Regions from separate parts of the Homo sapiens genome. Here region 1 is linked to region 2. The links are contacts of gene promoters, found by promoter capture Hi-C in blood cells and fetal thymus (Javierre and others, 2016). All regions are on one chromosome and are shown on one strand. Each heading gives the region's core, a stretch centred on a gene start or on the middle of the fragment in contact. The rest is flanking DNA. Distances are from core to core; before and after follow the strand shown. Region 1 has its middle 47 kb from the start of KIFC3. Region 2 holds the start of CNGB1 (cyclic nucleotide gated channel subunit beta 1).

Region 1 (5,489 bases), core at 1,156-3,655, 120 kb before region 2:
TCTCCCCCACTCCATCTGGTTGTTAACGAGAATGAGAAAAGCAGATTAGAAGTGTCACCCCTGCAGCTGGTTCAAGGCTGTACAACCGATCCACTTTCGTTTCATTCTGATAGGTACAATTTCTTTCCCAAACAAACACTCACGTATTGGGTTTTGAGAAACCTTCTACTTATATGAATTTCATGAGCTTGACTGTGACCTGGGATAAGTCTTTATGAGCAAAACAAAGAAATGACCTATAAAAAGAAGTGTGTTTTCCTTTGTGATTCTGTGGCATAAGAAATATATTTAGGCCTGGTGCAGTGGCCCAAGCCTGTAATCCCAACACTTCAGGAGGCCAAGGTGGGCAGACCACTTGAGGCCAGGATTTCGAGACCAGCCTAGCCAACAAGGTGAAACCCCATCTCTACTAAAAATGCAAAAATTAGCCACGTGTGCTGGCGAACACCTGTAATCTCAGCTACTCTGGGGGCTGAGGCATGAGAATCTCTTGAACACGGGAGGCGGGGGTTACAGTGAGCCAGATGGCACCACTGCATTCCAGCCTGAGGTGACAGAGCAATGAATCTGTGAAGGAAGGAGGGAAGGAAGGAAGGAAGGAAGGAAGGAAGGAAGGAAGGAAGGAAGGAAGGAAGGAAGGAAGGAAGGAAGGAAGGAAGGGAAGGGAGGGAGGGAGAGAGGGCGGGGAGGGAGGGAGGGAGGGAGAGGTGGCTCACACCTGTAATCCCAGCACTTTGGGAGGCTGAGGTGGAAGGCTTGCTTGAGCCCAGGAGTTCGAGACCAGCCTGGGCAACACAGTAAAAATCCTGTGTCTATAAACAATAAAAAGTAATTTTGAAAAAATTGTAGGACATGCAGCTGGTGTCACAGAGAATTTATTGGTGTGGGGAAGAAACAACACACATTTGGTGTTAGGAGTGTTCCATGGATAGAAAAAGATTAGAGATTCCACAAATTGATTCTGTCAATTTGTGGAATTGACACAAACACACAGGGCTGCCCAATTTTCTGTTATAAGCAGGGGAGGGGAGTCCTGAAAGAGATTTGCAGATGATATAAATGCGTAAGAGAACATTGAGACTTTTCTTTCCCTTTGGCCTTATTGTTCAAGAATATATTTTTAGATTAAGTCCAGATGCCAGATGAATTTGTGTGTGTGTGTGTGTGTGTGTGTGTGTGTGTGTGTGTGTGTGAGACCGAGTCTCACTCTGTTGCCCAGGCTGGAATGCAGTGGCACAATCTCAGCTCGCTGCAACCTCTGCCTCCGAGATTCAAGCAATTCTTGTGCCTCAGCCTCCCAAGTAGCTGGGGACACAGGCGCACCCCACCACATCTGGCTAATTTTTGTATTTTTGATAGAGATGGGGTTTCACCATGTTGGCCAGGTGTGTCTTGAAATCCTGACCTCAAGTGATCCACCTGCCGCAGCCTTCTAAAGTACTGGCATTACAGGCGTGGGCCACCATGCTTGGCCTGGATGCCAGAAGAGTTATTTGCAAAACAATTTTTAAATACTTTTAAATACTTTGTAAAGAAGCCAAAGTTTTATTGTTGTTATTTTCTGTCTAATGCCTTGAAGTTGCCATACATTTTGGAGATTCTATTAAAGCTATAAGCTCGTTTTGTTCAGATGAACATTCATTTGTTTTTATGATCAAGCAAACAGAGAGTGGTTTAACTGGCTTAAGAAGGACCACACAGAAAGCCGAAATTCAGGACCAGCATTGAGATGCCAGCATGGAGGCCCCGTGTGGTGGCTCATCCCAGAACTTTGGGAGGCCGAGGCAGGAGGATTGCTTGAGGTCAGGAGTTCCAGACCAGCCTGCACAGCATAGCCAGATCCCATCTCTACAAAAAATTCTAAAAATTAGCTGGGCGTTGTGGTGCATGCCTGTAGTCCTAGCTATTGGGAAGGCTGAATCCAGAGGATCCCTTGAGCCCATGAATTTGAGGCTGCAGTGAGCTGTGACTGAGCCACTGCCACTCCAGCCTGATAGACAGAATAAGACCTGTCTCAAAAAATTAAAATTAAAAGACGCCCATATGAAGCTAATCTCCGATTCTGTGTGCAGACTGCTAAAATGTCTCTCTTGCTAAAAGGAAGCCCTAAGAATGGCTACACAGGGTTTTTAACAAAAAGATTTAGCATGTCTTAGGACTTAATGCATGTGCCACCTTCAGGCAGCCATAACAAAAAACTAGAGGTTTTCTCTAAATAAATACATAAAAATAAGGAATTTAGATTCTCTGGCAACTGTGACCTTAAACTTTGTTTTCAAGGTGAAAAATATTCACATAAAATTAAGCTTTATGAGAACATTTCTATGATGATTTAATTTCTTCTCTCTTCCCCGGTTCCACTTAAACACTAATCCTAGAATCCTAAAACTGTTCTTCCTGTAGATGTCATGGTAAGTACCACACTTTTTCTGTGCTTTTCCATAAGCAGAGAACAATAGTAGCTGAGTGATCAGACAGTACAGAGATTAACAGAGGAGTTAGTAATAAGCTTTAGAGGTTTATATCTGTGGCTCTACTCGTCTAAATTTAAGCCTTTTTGGGGACAGAAACCCAGTTAACCAATTTAAGGCAACTACCATCACAGTTTCTTGATAATTGGTGATCTCAGTAGAAAGGGTACGTTGTAAATAAACAAAGCAATGAAACCCAGATTTCATTCATCAATGTATCCCCTACAGACCAGTTTAATGGAGATAAATTACCTTGTAGATAATGACAATGCAAACTTAACACACATCAGATCGATTGAGACAAACTGCTGTGTGTGTGTATCTGTGACGGCCTTTACTTTGTTATTACTGATTTAATTATTTTAAAACCCTTATTAAGTGCTCTGTGGGTTCATAGTGGCACTTCTCTAAAAATCTGAAAGTCAATATAGTCTTTTAAACTACAGAGTTGGTGCCCTTTGTCTTATGAAGGGAAGGAGAACGTAAACTCACTGCCTCTAGAAGATAGGGGTAGAGGTGTTTAGAAAATAGTTAATGGGGCCAGGTGTGGTGGCTGATGCCTGTAATTCCAGCACTTTGGGAGGCCGAGGCAGGCAGATCATCTGAGGTCTGGAGTTCAAGACCAGCCTGGCCAGCATGATAAAACCCCATCTCTACTAAAAATACAAAAATTAGCCGGGTGTGGTGGTGTGTGCCTGTAATCCCAGCTACTTGGGAGGCTGAGGCAGGAGAATCACTTGCACCTGGAATGTGGAGGTTGCAGTGAGCCGAGATCATGCCACTGCACTCCAGCCTGGGCAACAAGAGCAAAACTCCATCTCAACAACAACAAAAAATAGTTAATGGGCCGGGTGCAGAGGCTTCCACCTGTAATCCTAGTAATTTGGGAGGCTTGAGGGGAATCAGCCTCGAAAAGTAGGGGAATCACTTGAGGCCAGGAGTTTGAGGCTGTAGTGAGCTATAATCGTGCCATTACACTTCAGCCTGGGTGACAGAGCAAGACCCTTTCTCTAAAAAATAAATAGTAATAATAAAAGCCAGGTGTGGTGGCTCATGCCTATAATCTTAACACCTTGAGAGACTGAGGCGGGAGAATTGCTTGAGCCCAGAAGTTCCAGACCACCAGCCTGGGCAACATAGCGAGACCCTGTCTCTACAAAAAATTGAAAAATTAGCCGGGCATGGTGGCATGCACCTGTAGTCCCAGCTATTCAGGAGGCTGAGACAGGAGGATTGCTTGAGCCCAGGAATTTGAGGCTGCAGTGAGCCATGATTGAGCCACTGGACTCCAGCCTGGGGGAGAGAGTGAGACCCTGTCACACACAAACAAAATAATATAATACAATAATAATAATAATAAATAAAAATAAATTTTAAAAAGGGTTTTTTTTTTTTTTTTTTTTTTTTGAGATGGAGTCTCACTCACTCTTTTGCCCAGGCTGGAATGAAGTGGCCCTATCTCAGCTCACTAAAACCTCCATCCACCAGGTTCAAGCGATTCTCCTGCCTCAGCCTCCCAAATAGCTGGGATTACAGGCGCCTGCCACCATGCCCGGCTAATTTTTGTATTTTTAGTACAGATGGGGTCTTGCCATGTTGGCCAGGCTGGTCTCGAACTCCCGACCTCAGGTGACCCACCCGCCTCGGCCTCCCAAAGTGCTAGTATTACAGGAGTGAGCCGCTGTGCCCAGCCACAAAAATGGGTCTTTTTCATACATTGTACGGAGTTCTCCGCAGGCCCTTCCAGTGCTTCAGCTGTGGGAAGTTTTCCTGTGTTATTTCATTGATATTCTCTGCCCTTTCTTTGTTCTCTCTGGAATTCTTTGAAATTGCTGATTTGATTTCAACTTCTTTCCTTCCCTCCCTCCTTCCTTCCTTCCTTCCTTCCTTCCTTCCTTCCTTCCTTCCTTCCTTCCCTCCCTCCCTCCTTTCCTTCCTTCCTTTTCTTGACACGATCTTGCTTTGTTGCCCAGACTGGAGTGTAGTTGTGTGATCACCGCTCACTGCAGCCTCAAGCTCCTAGGCTCCAGGCATCCTCCCACCTCAGCCTCCTGAGTAGCCAGGATTACAGGAGTGTGTCACCACACCCGGCTAATGTTTTTTTAATGTTTTGTAGAGACGGGGGTCTCATTATGTTGCCCAGGCTGGTCTCAAACTCCTGGTCTCAAGTGATCCTCCTGCCTTGGCCTTCCAAAGTGTTAGGATGACCAGTGTGAGCCACCATGCATGGCCTATTATTTTTCATCTCTCTCTGTTTGTTCTAGTTCCTGGAAAATTTCCTCAACTTCATCTTCCAATCCACTTACTGATTTTTCCCCTCATATTAAAAACACATAGATTTTTCTTGTGTTTATTTTATTTTATTTTTCCTTATCCCTGGTAATATCTGGAGATTGTCTTGGTTTTGAATATTCATTTATTCAATAGCATTTCAAGAGTGTAATTGCCTCTTGTCTCTGGAACTATTATAATATTCGTTCGTTCATTCTTTTTTTTTTTTTTGAGGCAGAGTCTCGCTCTGTTGCCAAGGCTGGAGTGCAGTGGCACAATCCCGACTCACTGCAACCTCCGCCTTCCAGGTTCAAGTGATTCTCCTGCCTCAGCCTCCTGAGTAGCTGGGATTACAGGCCTGCACCACCACACCCGGCTAATTTTTGTTGTTGTTGTTGTTTTCGAGATGGTAGTCTCGCACTGTCGCCTGGGCTGGAGTGCAATGGTGCAATCTTGGCTCACTGCAACCTCTGCCTCCCAGGTTCACGCGATTCTCCTGCCTCAGCCTCCTGAGTAGCTGGGATTACAGGCATGTACCACCACACTGGCTAATTTTTTTGTATTTTTAGTAGAGATGGGGTTTCTCCATGTTGGCCAGGCTGGTCTCAAACCCCTGACCACAAGTGATCCTCTCTCCTCGGCCTCCCAAAATTCTGGGATTACAAGTGTGAGCCACCACACCCAGCTCATTCTTTCTTTTTTATTTCTTCCTTTCTTTCTTTCCCTAGATTGTCTATTTTCTTTGTC
Region 2 (5,469 bases), core at 1,827-4,326:
ATTGAGCTAGCAAGAAGATGTGCCTGCTCTGAAGTCAAGTCATGAGCAGATCAGTTAATGTCTCTGTGCCTCAGTTTGCTTGTCTGTAAAATGGGGATATTAATAGTACCTACCTCATGGGCTAATTGTGAGGATAAAATGAATTGATAAGTGTAACATACTCAGGCCAAGGGCAGTGGCTCACACCTATAATCCCAGCACTTTGGGAGGCTGAGGTGGGTGGATCACTTGTGGTCAGGAGATCCAGAGCAGCCTGGCAACATGGGGAAGCCCCTTGTCTACTAAAAATACAAAAATTAGCTGGGCATGGTTGCAGGCACCTGTAATCCCAGCTACTCAGGAGGCTGAGGCATGAGAATCTCTTGAACCCAGGAGGTAGAGGTTGCAGTGAACCAAGATCGTGCCACTGCACTCCAGCCTGGGTGACAGAGTGAGATCCTGTCTCAAAAATAATAATAATAATAATAAATGTAACATACTCAGAACAGTGACTGGCACATGCCGAGGGCTTAATAAATGTTGACTATGACTATTACATGGTATCAAATGAAAACACTAATTGTGTAATATGCATGTACTACATAATCTCATTATAAGTAAAAATATTCATTATGAGTAATTACATGAGTGGAAAATCTGTCTTAAGATAAACTTAACCTATGTTCATCATTTTTTAATTTTTAAGATAAAATGGGCTGGGTGCAGAGGCTCATGCCTGTGATCCCAGCACTTTGGGAGGCCAAGATGGGAGGATCACTTGAGCTCAGGAGTTCGAGACCACTGTGGGCAACATATCAAGACCCTGTCTCTATTTAAAAAAAAAAAAAAAAAAAGCCTGTTATGGTGGTGTGCACCTGTAGTCCCAGCTACTCAGGAGGCTGAGGCAAGGGGTCGAGGCTTCAGTGATCATGCCACTGCACTTCTGCCTGGGTAACAAAGCAAGATCCTGTCTCAAAAAAAGAAAAAAAAATGGGCCTGTTGTGGTAGCTCACGCCTGTAATCCCAGCACTTTGGGAGGTGAAGGCAGGCAGATCACCAGAGGTCAGGAGTTCGAGATCAGCCTAGCCAACATGGTGAAACCCCATCTCCACTAAAAATACAAAAATTAGCTGGGTGTGGTGGTGTGCACTTGTAATCCCAGCTACTCCGGAGGCTGAGGTGGGAGAATCACTTGAACCCGGGAGGCAGAGGTTGCAGTGAGCCGAGATCGTGCCACTGCACTCCAGCCTGCCTGGGTGACAGAGCAAGACTCCTTCTCAAAAACAAACAGACAAACAAAAAGGCTGGGCATGGTGTGGCTCACACCTGCAATCCCAGCACTTCAGGAGGCTGAGGCAGGCAGATCGCTTGAGCTCAGGAGTTCGAGACCAGCCTGGGCAACATGATGAAACCCTGTCTCTACCAAAAATACAAAAAATTAGCCCAGCGTGGTGGCACGTGCCTGTAGTACCAGTTACTCGGGAGGCTGAGGCACGAGAATCACTGGAGCCCAAAAGGTGGAGATTGCACTCAGCCATTGCACTCCAGCCTGGTCGACAGAGTAAGACCCTGTCTCAAAACTGAAATAAAATGCTTATAGTGCTATATTTTAAAAAAAGAAAGAAAGAAAAAGATAAAATGCCAGGTAAGACTTTTTTCATGATATACTGTGTTATTTCAGTCCTACCTTAAGTACAGGTTGTTTCTGGTTGATTTCTCCTTGGGGAATGGGGAGCCCCAGCCCTTATGACTGAACCCCTGCAGGATGGCCTGGCCAGTGCGCAGCGTGCAGGTCAGTGTGTGCTAACTCCTAGCCCTAGATGTGTTCTTGCCCCACATGAGTGTGCCCCACCCCTCTCCCAGCCATGGGCAACCCGGGCTTTGGCAGAGAGTCTGTATGCCCCTTTCTGCCAGGGACCCTGGCCCCAGCTGAAGAGGGCAGCCCAGGCCCAGGATCCTTGCCCCCAAGCCCAGCTCCCCAGAGCCCACGGCTGTGCTGCCTGTCCTCTACTTACAGCCCTGACCTCTGTTCCCACTCTGGCATCAGCAGCCCAGCCTCTCCCACGAGAGGCTGTGGTGGGAACACAGCTCTAAGTGTCAGATCCCTGGCTCAGCCTCCCAAAAAATGAACTTGGGCCAGACATGACCCCTCTGGTCTTCCATTTCCCTGAAGGTGGGGGCACAGACACAATGTTTTCCCAGGTCGGGACTGCCAGAGCTCACATGTTGGGATAGCAGATTTCACTGACCCCAGCCAGCCCCAGGCAGCCCCGAGAGCCAGGGCTGAGCTAAGTGCATTCTACCCATGATCATACTCATCCTCGCTCTCACCACCACGCCCCGCCCAGCCCCTGCACTCAGTAAAATAAGAATTTTCATTATGTAGCACAGAAAGGTCAACAGAATCGCCTGAAGCAGCACAGCCGGCAGTGGCCAACTTGAGTTTACACTCAGGTCTGCCCGATTCCAGCTGCCCCACATGTATTCCCAGGTAGTCGTGGCATTTGCCGAGTGTTGGCCTCTTCCGCGGGCCAGGCCTGTAGACCCTTCCCAGCAGGCAGCAATTCTCGCTTGCATTTCTAAACCTTCTGGAAATGACTAAGGAAGCCTCCCCGATCCCCCATTTTTCTTTTTCCTCCTAAATGAGAATTTTTGCAGGTCCCTCCCATCTTTCACCCGTGTCCCTGCTGACTGCACTTTGATGAGGGAGGCTCAGGTGGGAAGGGGGACCCACGAGTGGCAGCTCGGGGAGCCATGGTGTTGCACCACCAGCATTTCCAGAGTCTTCTGGAGAGCTAGTGAAAATATAGATTCCTAGGTCCCCCAAGTCCTCCTGGGGGACCTAGGAATTTGCATTGTACAAGCTGTCCTGAAAATTCTGATGCCCGCTAAAGTCCAAGCTCCACCAGATAGAGGGAAGCCACAGGTTTCCCACCGTGCCAGTTTGGTCCTACCTAAATGCCTTTCTAGAGGGAGAACATGGGGATCCCCTCGGGGTCCCACCGAGCCTCCACCTCACCCTGAGTTACCTGCTTAGATGCCAACCGCCAGCCAGGAATTGCCTTCTTGCTGCCACTCGTAGCTGGCCCCTCAGACACAAGGAAGATTAATTGGCAGTAGCTGGGCCGTGTGCAAAGGATTAGCAGGTGCTGAATGGGGGAGGGGGAGAAAAGAGGCTGTTGATGCCCAGGAAACCAGCAGCACCTCCCAACTCCCAGGGTCCAGCAAGGATGTGGGCCCCAGGGAAGGGCTCCTGCATGGCCCAGGTTTGGAGCACCATGGGTTGCCAGGGGACCTGCCCGGCTTACCAGGGGCCTGGCTTCCCATACACCTTGGCCAAGACACGGAGTGGCTGATGGGAGAATAACAGCTTGGAGTTCCCATGTGATGCCTGGAGACTCCTCATGGTAGCAGGGGCTTGTCAGCTCCCACTCAGCGGTGGCAAGAGGTGTACCCCAACTCTCCAGCCCCCAGGCCAGGACGCAGGCAGGTTCTTTCTGGCTTAGAGTCTTCTCTGGGCAGGGTCTCAGCAGCCCTGCCTTGGGCTCTGCCAGAAAGGCTGTGTCCCAGGCCTGGGCCTTGAGGATGGATCCAAGACCCGGCAGATGACTGAGGCATCTGACCTGCCCTGTGAACTGAGGCTGGACACTTGAAGGGATACAGAGATCTAGGAGGAGAGGGTGCAAGGGACAGGGCCCAAGGAAGAGGGGCTCAGTGTGGTGGCCCTGAGGGATATTTGGCAAAGGGCAGGACTTGACTTAATTATCCGCACCATTTCTAGAGTTCTTCCTTTCCTTTCCTTTCCTTTTTTTTTTTTTTTTTTTAAGCCACAGTCTCTCTCTGTCACTCAGGCTAAGTGAAGTGGTGCAATCACAGCTCATTGCAGCCTCAACCTCTCAAACTCCTGGATGCAAGCAATCCTCCTGCCTCAGCCTCTCATAGTATTGGGATTACAGATGTAAGCCCCTGCACCTGGCCTAGAGCTCTTCCTTTGTGCCTGGCAGTGTGCCAGCCTTGGCACACTGAGCAAGACAGACATAGGCCCTGTCCTCATGGAGCTTACATTCCAATGGAGGAGATTACTGACAAATAAAGAATATTGCAAATTATGCTAAGTGCCATAAAAGAAACAAACAGGGCAGAAGCATGTTGTGGAGGGCAGTAGGGGCAGGTAGGCAGGCCCCTATGACGAGGTGGATGTATATTTGAACTGAGACATGAAAAGTAAGAAAGACTCAGCTGTGAAAAAAGCTGGGTGAGTGGTGCTCCAGGCCAAGGACACTGCAACGAGAAAGGTTCTGAGGCTGGAATGAGCCTTGAGGAGCAGAATGGGAACCGGGGAGCCTGGAGCTTAACGGGTGCAGGGGAGAGTGGTGGGAGATGAGGTTGACAGAGGGCAGGGGCAGATGTTGTGAGACTGTAAGCCACAGGAAGGAGTGTAGTTTTAGATGATGGTTTTGAACAGGGGCTGGGCATGATCTGTGTGGCTCTGTGTAGCAGGCAAGCATGGAAACAGGAAACTGGTCAGGAGGCTGCGGAGGGACAAGCTGATTGGTGACTGGATGACCCCTGGCTTCCCCTCCAGTGTTGGGCTTCAAGACCTCTGATAATGCAACCTCTACATGGCAAGTGATTCACAAGAAAGTTCTTTCTGCCAGCAAGGCCAGACCCCAACGGTAAAGCTCAATGTACTCCCTGACCCTTCCCTACAAATATGCCAGGCTGCAGGGGTCAGAGCTCCTCCCCAAGGAACAGCAGCAAGCCCTTCTGCTCTGCTTGGGCCTGAGACTAACACAGGTGACATTCGCCCTTGCCTGCAGCCTGACGGGAGGGATGATGGGGCTTGGACTATGCTGGTGGGAGTACAGATAGAAGGGAAAGGGGAGGAAAAAGGCGGGCATTGAGGGGCTCACCCTGGGAAACTGGGTAGCTGGTTTAGTGGGTGAACCAGTAAACCGCCCCAGGCTGGTTTACACATGTACTGAAAAGAAGAAGCCTGAGGCTGGAAGTTTGGAGGAAGAATTTTGGAGGGAAAATCATGAGCACTACTTTGTTAAGATGTCTGAGAGAGGCTGGGTGCAGTGGCTCACGCCTGTAATCCTAGCACTTTGGGAGGCCAAAGCAGGTGGATCACCTGAGGTCAGGAGTTCAAGACCAGCCTGGCCAACATGGCAAAACTCCGTCTCTACTAAAAATACAAAAATTAGTCGGGTGTGGTGGCAGGTGCCTATAATCCCAGCTGCTCTGGAGGCTGAGGCAGGAGAATTGCCTGAACCCGGTGGGTGGATGTTGCAGTGAGCCAAGATCACACCACTGCACTCCAGCCTAAGCAAAAAAAAAAAAAAGTCTGAGAGACATCCAGGTTGAAATGTGTGTGTGTGTGTGTGTGTGTGTGTGTGTGTGTGTGAGACTTAGGGAGAGGTCTACAGGAGATAGAAATTTTGGAGGCCTCAGCTTGCAGATGATGCTTAAAGCCACAGGACTGACTGA

The links. The method cuts DNA at HindIII sites, captures the fragments that hold promoters and counts their contacts. A CHiCAGO score of 5 or more calls a contact.
Region 1: a fragment that was not itself captured here is called in contact with the fragment with the promoter of CNGB1 in region 2 in 2 of 17 cell types (endothelial precursors and erythroblasts); the score reaches 6.0 in endothelial precursors.

The regions. Positions count from the first base shown.
Region 1 is chr16:57,846,612-57,852,100 of GRCh38, forward strand. It overlaps a transcript of KIFC3 not described here. Among named protein-coding and RNA genes, the nearest start is that of KIFC3, 47 kb to the left of the region's middle. RefSeq lists enhancers at 1-35, 36-917. The HindIII fragment of the contact is 203 bases long and covers 2,305-2,507 here.
Region 2 is chr16:57,968,052-57,973,520 of GRCh38, forward strand. It overlaps CNGB1 (cyclic nucleotide gated channel subunit beta 1), which reads right to left and starts at 3,077. Exons shown (of 33, transcript NM_001297.5): 1 at 3,009-3,077. The HindIII fragment of the contact is 12,254 bases long and covers 1-5,469 here.